2 separate regions of the Homo sapiens genome follow, and region 1 is linked to region 2. The links are contacts of gene promoters, found by promoter capture Hi-C in blood cells and fetal thymus (Javierre and others, 2016). All regions are on one chromosome and are shown on one strand. Each heading gives the region's core, a stretch centred on a gene start or on the middle of the fragment in contact. The rest is flanking DNA. Distances are from core to core; before and after follow the strand shown.

The links. The method cuts DNA at HindIII sites, captures the fragments that hold promoters and counts their contacts. A CHiCAGO score of 5 or more calls a contact.
Region 1: a fragment that was not itself captured here is called in contact with the fragment with the promoter of C5orf34 in region 2 in 1 of 17 cell types (fetal thymus); the score reaches 5.7 in fetal thymus.

What each region holds. Positions count from the first base shown.
Region 1 is chr5:42,946,661-42,953,306 of GRCh38, forward strand. It overlaps LOC105374745 (a long non-coding RNA gene), which reads left to right and starts at 4,229. Exons shown (of 3, transcript XR_925964.3): 1 at 4,229-6,646. RefSeq lists enhancers at 3,763-4,962, 4,007-4,301, 4,063-4,122, 4,099-4,621, 4,099-4,243 and 2 more, a cis regulatory region at 4,166-4,176 and a silencer at 4,413-4,512. The HindIII fragment of the contact is 4,864 bases long and covers 2,396-6,646 here.
Region 2 is chr5:43,511,196-43,517,594 of GRCh38, forward strand. It overlaps C5orf34 (chromosome 5 open reading frame 34), which reads right to left and starts at 3,953. Exons shown (of 13, transcript NM_198566.4): 1 at 3,611-3,953. It overlaps LOC124900190 (a long non-coding RNA gene), which reads left to right. Exons shown (of 3, transcript XR_007058764.1): 1 at 1-104; 2 at 2,998-6,399. RefSeq lists an enhancer at 3,561-3,720. The HindIII fragment of the contact is 8,167 bases long and covers 1-6,399 here.

The DNA.
Region 1 (6,646 bases), core at 3,578-6,077, 560 kb before region 2:
TGGTGCACGCCTGTAATCCCAGCTACACAGGAGGCTGAATCACAAGAATCACTTGAACCCAGGAGGTGGAGGTTGCAGTGAGCCAAGATCAGGCCACTGCATGCCAACCTGGGCGACAGAGCAAGAATTTTTTCAAAAAAAAAAAAAAAAAGTTATCATCGTGAATACATTGATCAATATAAAGACACTGCTAGCTAACATCAGTTTGCCTCACTAGATCTGTTTACCAGTCTTCAGCCAGCTCTATCTTGCAAGAAGTAACCGTTATGGACTGCACTGGAGAGCTACTTTTGCCTCTGGGCTTCTGTTTGAGTTTAGGCCCTGAAAGACACCAGCTGTTCAGAGATATGGAGTAGTAATTTATTACCTTGCTTTGTTCCCCCTGGAGCTCAGGGTATTGAATTATTTTAAGTAAAGTCAAAAATAGTCTGGCTATGGTGGCACATGCTTGCAATCACAGCACTTTGGGAGGCCAAGGCAGGAGGATCCCTGGAGGTCAGGAGTTCAAAACCAACTTGGGTAATAGAGTTAGATCCCGTCTCCACAAAGAATAAAAAAATTAGGCTGGGCACGGTGGCTCACACCTTTAATCCCAGCACTTTGGGAGGCCAAGGCGGTTGGATCACCTGAGGTCAGGAGTTCGAGACCAGCCTGGCCAACATGGTGAAACCCTGTCTCTACCAAAAAATACAAAAATTAGCAGGGTGTGGTGGTGGACACCTGCAATCCCAGCTACTCGAGAGACTGAGGCAGGAGAATCACTTGAACCTGGGAGGTGGAGGTTGCAGTGAGCCAAGACTGCACCATTGCCTGGGCAACAAGAGCAAAACTCCATCTCATAAAAAAATAAATAAACATAAATAAATAAGTAAATAAATAAATAAGCCAGGCATGGTGCTATGTACCTGTAGCCACAGCTACTTGGGAGGCTGAGGAAGGAGGACTGCATGAGCTGAGATGGCGGAGGCTGCAATAAGCTATAGTTGTACCACTGCACTCCAGCCTGGGTGACAGAGTGAGACCCGGTCTCAGAAAAATAAAAGGGAAAAAAAAGGCCAAAAATACTGTGGAGTGGCCCTTCCAGCACTTGCTTGCTTTCTCTAACACCACTCATTCTCTTGCCCCTACTTAGCTAGGAATGGTAATGCTTTCTTCTGGTGAAAGTCTGGAGTGCTCCCTACCTCTTGTTTGTTTCCTTTTACCTGTCCACAAATGCTCATTGTAAGTAGTCAGTTACTTTATTAAACACTTCTCAACTACCCCTTTTTGTGCATTCATTTTATGCACCAACATTGATAATACAGATTCCACTGGCAAGTATAAAATTATTCCAAAATATTTAGCAAAGCAAAATATTTCATCCTGGGGCAGTTCAGAGTTTGGACAAAGAAAGTTGATGTGCCAGAGCAAACAGATTGAGTGTCTGCTGAAGCAAAAGAAAAGGGCAGTGACTTGTCATGGAAGCTGAAGAAATACATTTGCTATACAAAATGCTGAAGAGAGGTTGACATTTGTGGGAATAGGAAAATGAAATTGTGGAATGAAAGATTCATTATACAGGATTCACTGGGATGTGAAAATTGGAGATAATAAATATACAGTCCTTATGTTACATTTTTAACCTTTTATTTAAAATGATTTAAAATTTACAAGAAAAAATGCAAGAAGGAACCACAGAAATCCAGCTTTTTTTTTTTTTTTTTTTTTTTTGAGACAGAGTCTCGCTGGAGTGCAATGGTGCAATCTCGGCTCACTGCAACCACCACCTCCCGGGTTCAAGTGATTCTCCTACCTCAGCTTCGTGAGTAGTTGTGACTGCAGGCTTGAGCCACCACGCCCAGCTAAGTTTTGTATTTTTAGTAGAGATGGGGTTTCACCATGCTGGCCAGGCTGGTCTCGAACTCCCAACCTCAGGTGATCCTCCCGCCTCTGCCTCCCAAAGTGCTGGGATTACAGGCGCAAGCCACCGCACCCGGCTGCAGCCTACCTTTTATCCATATTCCCTCCCCTCCTCTCTTTAAAGAATTTGGGGCCACCACGGTGGCTCCCACCTGTAATCCCAGCCCTTTGGGAGGCCGAGGCGAGTGGACCACCAGAGGTCAGGAGTTCGATACCAGCATAATCAACATAGTGAAACTCCATCTCTACCAAAAATACAAAAATTAGCCGGGTTTGGTGGCATGCACCTGTAATCCCAGCTACTTGGGAGGCTGAGGTAGAAGAATTGCTTGAACTCAGGAGGCAGAGGTTGCAGGGAGCCGAGATCACACCACTGCACCCGCCTGGGCGACAGAGCAAAAATTTTTTTTAATTGTAAAAACACTGTACAACTTATGGCCAGTAAACTTTAATATTTAGTGTGCATTTCCTAAGAACAGGGATATTGTCTTACATAAGCTTACACAGTAGCACAGTACAGTTATCAATTGCAGGAAATTTAACCTTACTATAATACACTTCAGCATCAGCCTGGGTATTTATGTCTCCGGAGCTCGTGGGCGGAGGCAAGCCAAATATGAAACTCAATAGTAATAAATGCACTAAAATTAGTACACAAATGAAAAACGATAAAATTTTAGAAAGTACATAGAACCAAAACAAACCGTAATTCCGACGGAAAAACAGCGAGAAAAGAAAACGAAATGAAACTGACACTAAGCAGACCGTATAGAGAAGTAGCCCTACAGAACGCAGGGATTAAAGAGAGCTTCAGAGGCCAAGAACCACCTGTGTCCGGGAAATGAGCATTGCTGCCACCAGGAAACTGTCCGCTAGGGCTCGGCACTACTAAGGACCTCGCTAACAATAATCTGGCTGCGCTGGGACTCAGCAAGAGCAGACACCCAGCGGATTGCCCTGGTGTTGCCAAACAAATGTCCATTTAGGTGCCATAAATGGTGCTGCTAGAAAGAAACTGCGGGCTCTTAGATAGGAGTCCTGTCTGGAGAAATGAACTGACTGTGTTTAAATGTGTTGTGACAGAAAAATGTGTTGTGGCATCTTATTGTGTTTTAAGTCGTTTAATGTGTTTTAACCCGTTGTAATGTGCTGTGAGAGAAAAAGCCGCAGCTAACGGTGCTATGGAATTACTAGAGAGCACAGAGGCTGGGTGCAGTCACCGGTCTGCACCGTAAAAAGGGGTTCAGGAAGTTCCTACGAGATATTAGCGTTTCTAGGACCCAGAAAGAGACAGCACAGAGAATTTACGGGCCCCGAAAACATGAAACGTCCTGTTGGGCGCTAAGAATTGTGCACCAATTGAGAAAACGCCCAGTGGGCGCTACTGGCAAAAGTGCTGACGCAAAACCGACAGCTCCGCATAAGAAGCGGAGTCGCCAGACAGAACCCGGGACCTGGCAGCAGCAAGTCTGAGACCGAGATCGGCTCCCCGCGTCCTGAGCATGCAAGTCAAGGAGCACGAAGCTGAGACATTTAAAATCAGTAGAAAAAAATACATAACATTTAAATAGAAATACAATTTAAAAATAATAGAAGCCTAAAATGCAAGTAGAAATGAAAGGCAAGCACATCGGTAATGTCGTTCTCAGAGCAAGACACAAAAAGACAATTAAAAAATAAGCAAAAATTGCTGACAACCATTCCTACAAAGAAGAAATTACAAATGTTTGTAATGCAATCCTACGATTAGGATATCCCTATCCGATCTAAACCAGTACATGTTACACCTAAGTCTAAATTTCCTACCAAATTAAATAAATAAATAAATAACAGTCATGGTTAAACCTGTTTAGCTTAGACTATAAAATGGTAGGAAAAAAAGTCGCTTTCGGCGGGACTTGCTATTGTCAACTGGGGCTTGGCAAAACTGAAAAATCCCGTTTGCCTGCATTTCCTGACTTCCAGGGGAGTTTAAAAAACACAGGCCTAGCTAAGGCGGGACCCGCTATTGTGAAACCAAACTTAGTATAAGAGCTCCCAGGCCCTGCTAAACTGGTCATCGCTAAGCAAAAAAAAAAAAAAAAACCGCATTCGCTGGTACCCAGATTTCTACAGGAGTTAAACGTCTCCTGAGCAGCTAAAGCAGAGCTTACTAGTAAGAAACTTGCAATGACTAAGGAACTTGAGGCAGGGCTAACCCGGGGTTGTTAGGATTAGAATTCCGAGGCTACAGGAAACCCGGAATTGCTGAGATGTGAGTCACAGGGTGACTCAGCCTCGTTACGATGAAACAGTAACTTCCTACTACCTAGAAATCGCAGCCAGGGCCAGACCGGTGTTTGTCCTAAGTCGGAACTTGATTGGGCTGAGAAATCACATTGTGACTATTCCACGACTTGAACAAGGGGTAGAAATCGCAGGCACCGCGAAATAGAAACTTCCTAGGACCAAGAAGCCAACGACGCCCGAAACCGTGGGGTCCTGTCACAGAAACCCCAGCAGCGCAGCCACCGGACTGGGTTCTGGAGGCCGAGCCGCAGTCCGTGCGGCGGCGCTGGGAAGAGAAGGCGCCCCGGCAGCTCCCCTGCCACCGGCCCCGAGGAGCGGCTGGCTCCCCCAGCCCAGCGCCGCCGCCGCCCGGTAACTCCAGGCGCAACTGGGCGCAACTGGGGCAGCTGCGACACCGAATCCCTCACATCTGCAACCTGGGTGCTGCGGCCACTGAGAAAATGGAGGCGCAGACCAACGAGCGGTGCCGCGACCGAGAGACCTCGGCTGGCGAAATGGTGGTGCCGGGAGCCTGCGAGTGACGCCAGCCGGCGGGGTTGTCAAGGACAACATTCGTTTTGACGCAGCCAATGGCGCCGTCACCAAGAAACCATCGACTCTGAGAAAAAAGAGAGGTTCGGCCACCGAGAAACTCCGTACGACAAGTGCTGTGGCAGAAAAACCGCCTACTCCGCGCCACAGGCAAAACAGCCAATGGAAACCCCAGGTGCTGCGACCGTGACACCGGCACTAGAGGGTCTCGGATGGAGAAAGCGGCGCACGGAGACCAGGAAACTATGTGTAGCACAACTAGCAGAAAACCGTCTGGTCGGCCATCCGGGAGAAAGCGCGGATCAGAAACAAGCGACTTCGATGCAGGGAACCGCGCAGCCACTGAAGAAAGTGACCCACGTGGCAGTGGTGCCAGCGAAACACTGCAGTTTGGACGGCAGCTGTGGGGATGCCACAGAGAAACATGCACTGCCACTGAAGTACATCCAGCTCCGCGGAGCTAGTGTTCATATGATCAAGAAACCGCCAGTTGGGCTCTGCTAGAAACTTTTAGTCCTCCCTTAACGGCTATCCTACCCACAACAGACAATGCCTTTACCCAGCACCTAGCGGTGCTGAGACCCGCCTGGGCCAGCACAGAGCGCAGAGCAGTACGGGTACGGAGAAACGCCGGACTCAGTGAAACCAGCCTTGCCTCCAGCGGATTCCCCGGCTTCGCCGGACGCCACAGGCAGAGTGCCGCGGGGAAACCTCTGGCTCCCTAAACCGATTAGATTGTGGGAGTGGGGGGGACACTCACAAGTTGTGTGGAAGGGAACCAGCGGCAATGGGACCCGGCGAGCACTTGCCCGCAGCAAATGCCTGCGCTGCTGCAAAAAAAACAACTTTTGGCGCAAAGAATGTTGCGGCCAGAGAGCATCCGCTGTCGCTGACAAAGGAGTAGCAATGGCAATGAGAAACCGCCGGCGCCACGGCCGACCGCGGCGGCTCACGCCTATGATCCTTGCAGTTTGGGAGGCCGAGGTGGGCGCATTACTTGAGATCAGGAGACTAGCCTGGCCAACAAGGTGAAACCCCATCTCTACTAAAATACAAAAGATTAGCCGGTTGTGGTGGCAGGCACCTGTAATCCCAGCTACTCCGGAGGCTGAGGCAGAAGAATCGATTGAACTCAGGAGGCAGAGGTTGCAGTGAGCCAAGATCGCGCCACTGCACTCCAGCCTGGGAGACAGAGTGAGCTCCGTCTCAAAAAAAAGAAAGAAACCGCTGGCGCCGGGAAAGGAGCCGTGCAGCGATGGACCCATGGTGCGCTCCGTGCTACCAAAGTGCTGTGGCCTCTACCCACTCTCGATTCCCAAGGCTGTTTTTCGGGCTTAGGGAAGTCTGTTATATTTTTATTTCTGCTTCTTTCTTTTCTTTCTTTTATTTCTTTCTTTCTTTTTCTTTCTTTCATTCTTTCTTTTTCTTTTTCTTTCTTCTTTCCTTTCTTTCTCTCTTTCCTTTTTTTCTTTTTCTCTTTATTTCTTTTTTCTTTATTTTTTTTTTTAACAGTATCTTGCTCTGTTGCCCAGGCTGGTGCAGTGGCGTGATCACTGCTCAGTGCAGCCTCGCCTTCTTGGGCTCCAGCTATCCTCCCGCCTCAGCCTGTGGAGCAGCTGGGACCACAGGTGCGCGACACCACACCCGACTAATTTTTTGTAGTTTTTGTAGGGTCTCGTTTTGTTGCCTAGGCTGTTCTCGAACTCCTGAGCTCAAGCAGTCCGTCCGCCTGGGCGGACTAATATCACAAAGCGCTAGAATCACAGGCATGAGCCACCGTGCTGGGAGGGAAGTCTGTATTGTTGCTGCGTTCAACCCAGTGCATAGTGCATGAGAAGAGGAGGCAGTTTAGGGGCCCAGAACCAAGCGGATGGGGCTGGTTGCAGGAACAAAGTAAAAACCATTCTGATTGCCAACAGCTGCCTAC
Region 2 (6,399 bases), core at 2,703-5,202:
TCTGCCCGGCAGCCGACCCGTCTGAGAAGTGAGGAGCCTCTCCGCCTGGCAGCCGCCCCGTCTGAGAAGTGAGGAGCCCCTCCGCCCGGCAGCTGCCCTGTCTGGTTAGTGAGGACCGTCTCTGCCCGGCAGCCGCCCCGTCCGGCAGCCGCCCCGTCCGGGAGGGAGGTGGGGGGCAGCCCCGACCCGGCCAGCCGCTCCGTCCGGGAGGGAGGTGGGGGGCGCCTCCGCCCGGCCGCCGCCCCAACCGGGAGGTGGGGGGCGCCTCTGCCTGGCCGCCCCTTCTGGGAAGTGAGGAGCCCCTCTGCCCGGCCGCCACCCCGTCTGGGAGGTGTACCCAACAGCTCATTAAGAACGGGCCATGATGACGATGGCGGTTTTGTCAAATAGAAAAAGGGGAAATGTGGGGAAAAGATAGAGAAATCAGATTGTTGCTGTGTCCGTGTAGAAAGAAGTAGACATAGGAGACTCCATTTTGTTCTGTACTAAGAAAAATACTTCTGCCTTGGGATGCTGTTGATCTATGACCTTACCCCCAACCCTGTGCTCTCTGAAACATGTGCTGTGTCCACTCAGGGTTAAATGGATTAAGGGCAGTGCAAGATGTGCTTTGTTAAACAGATGCTTGAAGGCAGCATGCTCGTTAAGAGTCATCACCACTCCCTAATCTCAAGTACCCAGGGACACAAACACTGCGGAAGGCTGCAGGGTCCTCTGCCTAGGAAAACCAGAGACCTTTGTTCACCTGTTTATCTGCTGACCTTCCCTCCACTATTGTCCTATGACCCTGCCAAATCCCCCTCTGTGAGAAACACCCAAGAATGATCAACTAAAAAAAAAAAAAAAAAAAAGAGTTGGGTTTCATTCACACCTTACCATTTACTAGCTAGCTATAAGTCTCAGGTTGTTCCTCATTTGTAAAATGGGAGTAGTAACAGGATTGTTGTGTGTATTAAAAGAGAAAACAAATATGACAGTGACCAGCACTGTGGATGCTGCCTTGCAGGCACTCAAGCAATCTTATGAAATGTTTTTATTCCTTTCCAACACTAACCCCATCCCCTTCCACATTATCCCCTTCTACTACCAAGATGATCAAGTTTTACCTGCCAGAAAAAAATAACGTTCTATAGAAAACACTTTCACTTTATCCCTATTTCCTACCTATAAACAGCTCAAGTGTAGTATTCACTCACTACCAACCTTCTCTCCTATCAGTCTTCAATTCACTGCAATCCAGCTTTCACCTCTATCTCTTTACTGACATTGTTTCGCAATGGTCGCCAATGTCTTCTTATACCCAATGACTTTAGTCTTCATCCTACTAAACCTCATCAACGTGTAACAGCATTGTCTACATTCCCTTGCACCAAACTCTCTTTTCCCCTACTTTTCTCCCCTAACATTGGGCTGCCACAGTTTTCTTCTTCACTTCTACCTGTTTTTAGTTTAATCATTCTTCTTCACCATTCCCTTAAATCAAGGATTCTTCAAGACCTGACCTTAGTCCACATTTCATCCCTTCTTAACATAACACTGATGTCACTTTTATGCCCCACCTTGTCTTTTTTTTTTTTTTTTTTTTTTTTTTTTTTTTTTTTTTTTTGAGACAGAGTCTTGCTCTGTTGCCAGGCTGGAGTAGAGTGGCGCAATCTGGGCTCACTGCAACCTCTGCCTCCCGGGTTCAAGTGATTCTCCTGCCTCAGCCTCCTGAGTAGCTGGGACTACAGGTGCGTGCCACCACGCCTGGCTCATTTTTTGTATTTTTAGTAGAGACAGGTTTTCACCATGTTGGCCAGAATGGTCTGGAACTCCACACCTCGTGATCCACCCGTTTTGGCCTCCCAAAGTGCTGGGATTACAGGCGTGAGCCACCGCACCTGGCCCACCTTGTCTTTTTTTAACCTTACCCCCTTTAATGTATGTAATCAGCTGTAGGTGATATCATCTGTAATCTTCTGAGGATATGTCAGGATATAAGTAAATATTTAACCACATGGTCTCTCCTGAGGAGATTCACACACTTTTAATTATTTTCTTTCTCTAGAGAACTAAATGTACCTGACCTCTCACAGAGCTTTCAGGTGGCTGCCTGCTAGACCGCTCTCTATGTCCCTGTCCCATAGATAAATCAAACTCAACATAACTAAAATGGAACTTAATCACTCCTACCAAAAGCAGGCTTCTGTAATACCCCCTAATTGCACTTTCACTCTCATCTCTTCCCTCAAATCCAGTCTGCATACAGTAGTGCCCAGAGGGATCTTTTAAAATGAAAATCACATCTATCACTTCGTGGCTTAAAACCCACCAGTACCTTCCATTTCTACTTAAAATCCAAACTCCTAAACTATGGCCTACAAAGGCCACACAGTCTGGTCCTATCTACCTCTCCCAATGTCATTTCTCAACTCTCTCCTACTTCTACAGGGCACTTTAGATACATTGGCATTTTAAATGTTCTTTAAACAAGCTCTTTCCCATCTTTGCAGTTCTTTCTGCCTGCCTTGTCTTTTCCTTGGCTAATCACAAGGCTGGTTCTTTATCATCATCAAGGTTTCAGCACAAATGTAACTCCTACAAGGGCCCAACGACCAACTAAGTTAAAGTTACTCCCAAACATCTCCCAATCATTTGTCATCCCTCTTCAAGTTTTTTCTTCATAGAATCTATCATCAAAATTGATTATTTACTTGCTTTTTATTTTCTCCCACTAGGATATAAAGTCAACCGAAGCAGGGGCCTTATCTGTCTTATATGTAACAGTATCTCTGGCATCTAAAACAGTATTAGGCAAATAGTAAATGGCACAATAAATATTTGAATGATGAAAAATAAGTAAACTGCTCCTCTTGAATTTGCAATTTGAATTAATGGTGTCTCATTGTTAGCAGCCAATATTCTAAAACTTGACTTTCCACTCCATGCCCCTGTAACAAGTCCTGTTGATTTTCTGTCTTTGGAACCTGACTCTCTCTACCTCTTTCTCTTTTTCAGGCCATAGACTCTCCAACTCCTGCAACTGTCTGGAATTTCTTCTCTCTCCAATCCATCTCTAGTATTGATGACATAGGTAACTTTCCACAAGTCACACCATACCAAGTGCTTTACATCACCTGTTTACGTACTTATCAAATGGCAATATAGATTACAGATATATATATAAACACACACGTATATATCGGGTATGTCTACTTGGTATTTTAGGGGAAAAAACGGGTGCTGATACATAGATGGAAGACATTTTCTGATTCCAATTTGGGAAAAATAGTCTATCTTTGGTCAGGTCTTTTTTTTAATAGCTTTACTGAGGCGGTTTTCTAATTTTAAATAATCAAGCATACACAACAAACAGTGTAATGACTAAGGTTCTTGGCATACCATAGGAAACCATAACCCGGCTCCAACCCACACTGCCATTCTCATCTCTACAGTCTCATTCCCGCTTGCGTTCTCATCACCCAGCACATTACGTCAGGGTATGTTTAACACTCAAAAATCCACAAGTCTGTTCTTGACATGAATGAGAATCTCATTTCTTTCAAAATGCTATAGTCTCTAGTTACAGAAGGAGCCTGATCAAAACAACCACCAAAAGTCTTCCACTCACAGCAGTTCGGAGCCGAAAAGTTGCGGAAATGAGGCCCAGCAACGGTCCCTGGCTTTGATTTGCCAAAATGCTCTGGAAGCCGCAGCGTCGGCGCCTGCCCACCACTGCTTCTTCAGGGGTTTCTTCAGTTTGACAAATTACCAGCGAGTGATATTTCTTGGTGAAAGAAAAAAATCACAACCCTAGAGGAATAAGGTGGCAGGGAGAGTGTTTTGGCCAAGATGCCCGCCACGAAACAGGAAAGCGGAGACAGCGCCAACTGTAACCACTAAGAGAAAGCGCAAACCGCACAAGACCAGTTCAAAACCAGCGCCCTCAGGGAGCCGCTTCAGAGCTCCGCAACAGGGAAGACAGGAAGTCCCGCCCCTCCACAACAGGAAGGGCCGGAAGTCCCGCCCCTCCACTCCGGAGGCTGCCCTCGCTGCGTTCCCTACGAAGGGCGGAGCAGGAATTGGTGTAGGAAGGGGACGGGTGTTTCCTTGTTCGGAATGGGGTTGGCTCCTCTTTGATTTTTTACTTCTGGTGACCCACGCAAAAGCAGTCCCGACCTGGTTGTATTAATAATAAAGGCTGTAAGGATCAGCCTTTTGAACGGTCCAGCCGAGAACTAACCACAGAGCGCGTTTTAGTGGAGTGGTACTTATTTTTAAATAAGGTAAAAAACGATTATACTTCAGTAAAGCTGTTTAGAAAAAAAAAAACTTGGCCAAAGATGGAGAACTCTTCCTAATTTGGTATCAGAAAATAGGTCGTCTATGTATCTGCACCTTTTTTCCTTATAAAGTGGCAAATAAATGTGTCTGCTATATTTATTGCCACTAAACAAGTGTTTATGGAACACTCACTGTGTGTTTAGGCATAGTGGGGATAAAGCAGGGAAGGTGGCCCAGTTCTTTGCGGGTGAGGATCAGAGCTAGAGATTAACTGGAAAGAAAGAATAAACAATCATTTATTACAGTTGTGAGTGTTTCTAAGATAAAATACAGAGGTTTGTGAGAGCATAGAGAGGCATACCTTGTTTTATTGTGCATTTTATTGTGCTTTGCAGATACTGAGTTTACTACAAATGGAAGGTTTGAGGCAACCTTGATGGAGCAAGTGTATGGGTGCCATGTTTTTCCAACATCATGTGCTCACTTTGTGTCTCTGACATATTTTGGTAATTCCCACAATATTTCAAACTTTTTCATTATTTTTGTATCTGTTAGAGTGATCTGTGTGATCACTGATCTTTGATGTCACTACTGTAATTGTTTTGGGGGACCACAGATCATGCTCATACATTATAAAATGGCGAACTGAATCTGTTACAGGTAGTTAGGCATGAGCAAGGCAGGAGAGGGCTCTCCCCTGCCACCCACCCACTAGAAATGTTGGGTGATGGTTCAGCAATTATCACATGGCCTCTCTAAAAATGAAAATTTGGCAGCGCCAGGGAAAGGCCATTTCCTGATGGCCCACACCTGTTAACATCAAAATGTTAATTGAATGCAGGCCCCAGAGAGAAGCAACTTCCTGGGCATGCCGGTTAAGAGACAAAAGTGATGAAGTATGATTTTTCTGATACACTCCACCGGAAAAAGGAAGAAAGCCTCAGATGGGCATGTGTATAAATCCATAAAATCACTGTGTGTGCTCACTTCCCAAGGGTAAAGAGGGCTCTGAGCATGCAGGGAGCCCATCCTAAGATCATGGTTAAATGCGGCACTTGACCTTCTCTCTCTCTCTCTCCTTTTCTTTTTCTTTTTTTTTTGAGACGGAGTCTCACTCTGTCGCCCAGGCTGCAGTGCAGTGGCGCGATTTCAGCTCACTGCAATCTCCGCCTCCCGGGTTCAAGCAATTCTCTGCCTCAGCCCCCTCCCCGAGTAGCTGGGATTACAGGCGCCCACCACCATACCCGGCTAATTTTTTTGTATTTTTAGTAGAGACAGGGTTTCACCATCTTGGCCAGGCTGGTCTTGAACTCCTGACCTCATGATCCACCTGCTTCAGCCTCCCAAAGTTCTGGGATTATAGGCGTGAGCCACTGCACCCGGCTGGCCTTCTCTCTTTAACCTTCACATGCCCACTTGGGTCTCTTCCATGCGTACCTTCCTTTCTTTCCTGTTCTAATGCCTGTTTAAATAAACCTCCATTCCTACTCTGGAACTTGCTTCAGTCTCTTTTCTGCTTTATGTCTGTCAGTCAAATTCTTTCTTCTCTGAGGAGGCCAGGACTGAAGTTGCTATGGACCTGCAAGGATAGGCTGCTGGTAACTTGGGGTAACTCAGATCTCTTCCACTAGTAACAAGTCGATTGATATATATTGTGTGTGTCTGGCTGCTGTATTCACTGGCCACTCTCATCTCTCACCCTCTCCTAGAGCCTTCCTATTCCTTGAGACACAACAATATCAAAATTAGGCAAAGTAATACCCCTACAGTGGCTTCTAAGTGTCCAAGTAAAAGAGGGTTGTATGTCTCTCACTTTAAATCATAACCTAGAAATGCATGATTAAGCCTGTAAGGAAGGCATGTTGAAAGCTAAGATAGGCTGAAAGCTAAGCCTCTTGTGTCAAACAGCCAAGTTGTGAATACAAAGAAAAAATTCTTAAAGGAAATTAAAAGTACTACTCCAGTGAACACATGAATAATAAGAAAAACCAAAACAGCCTTATTACTGACAGGGAGGAAGTTTGAATGGTCTGGATAGAAGATCAAACCAGCTACAACATTCCCTTAAACCAAAGCCTAATCCAGAACAAAGCCCTAACTCTCTTCGATTCTATGAAGGCTGAGAAAGGTGAGGGA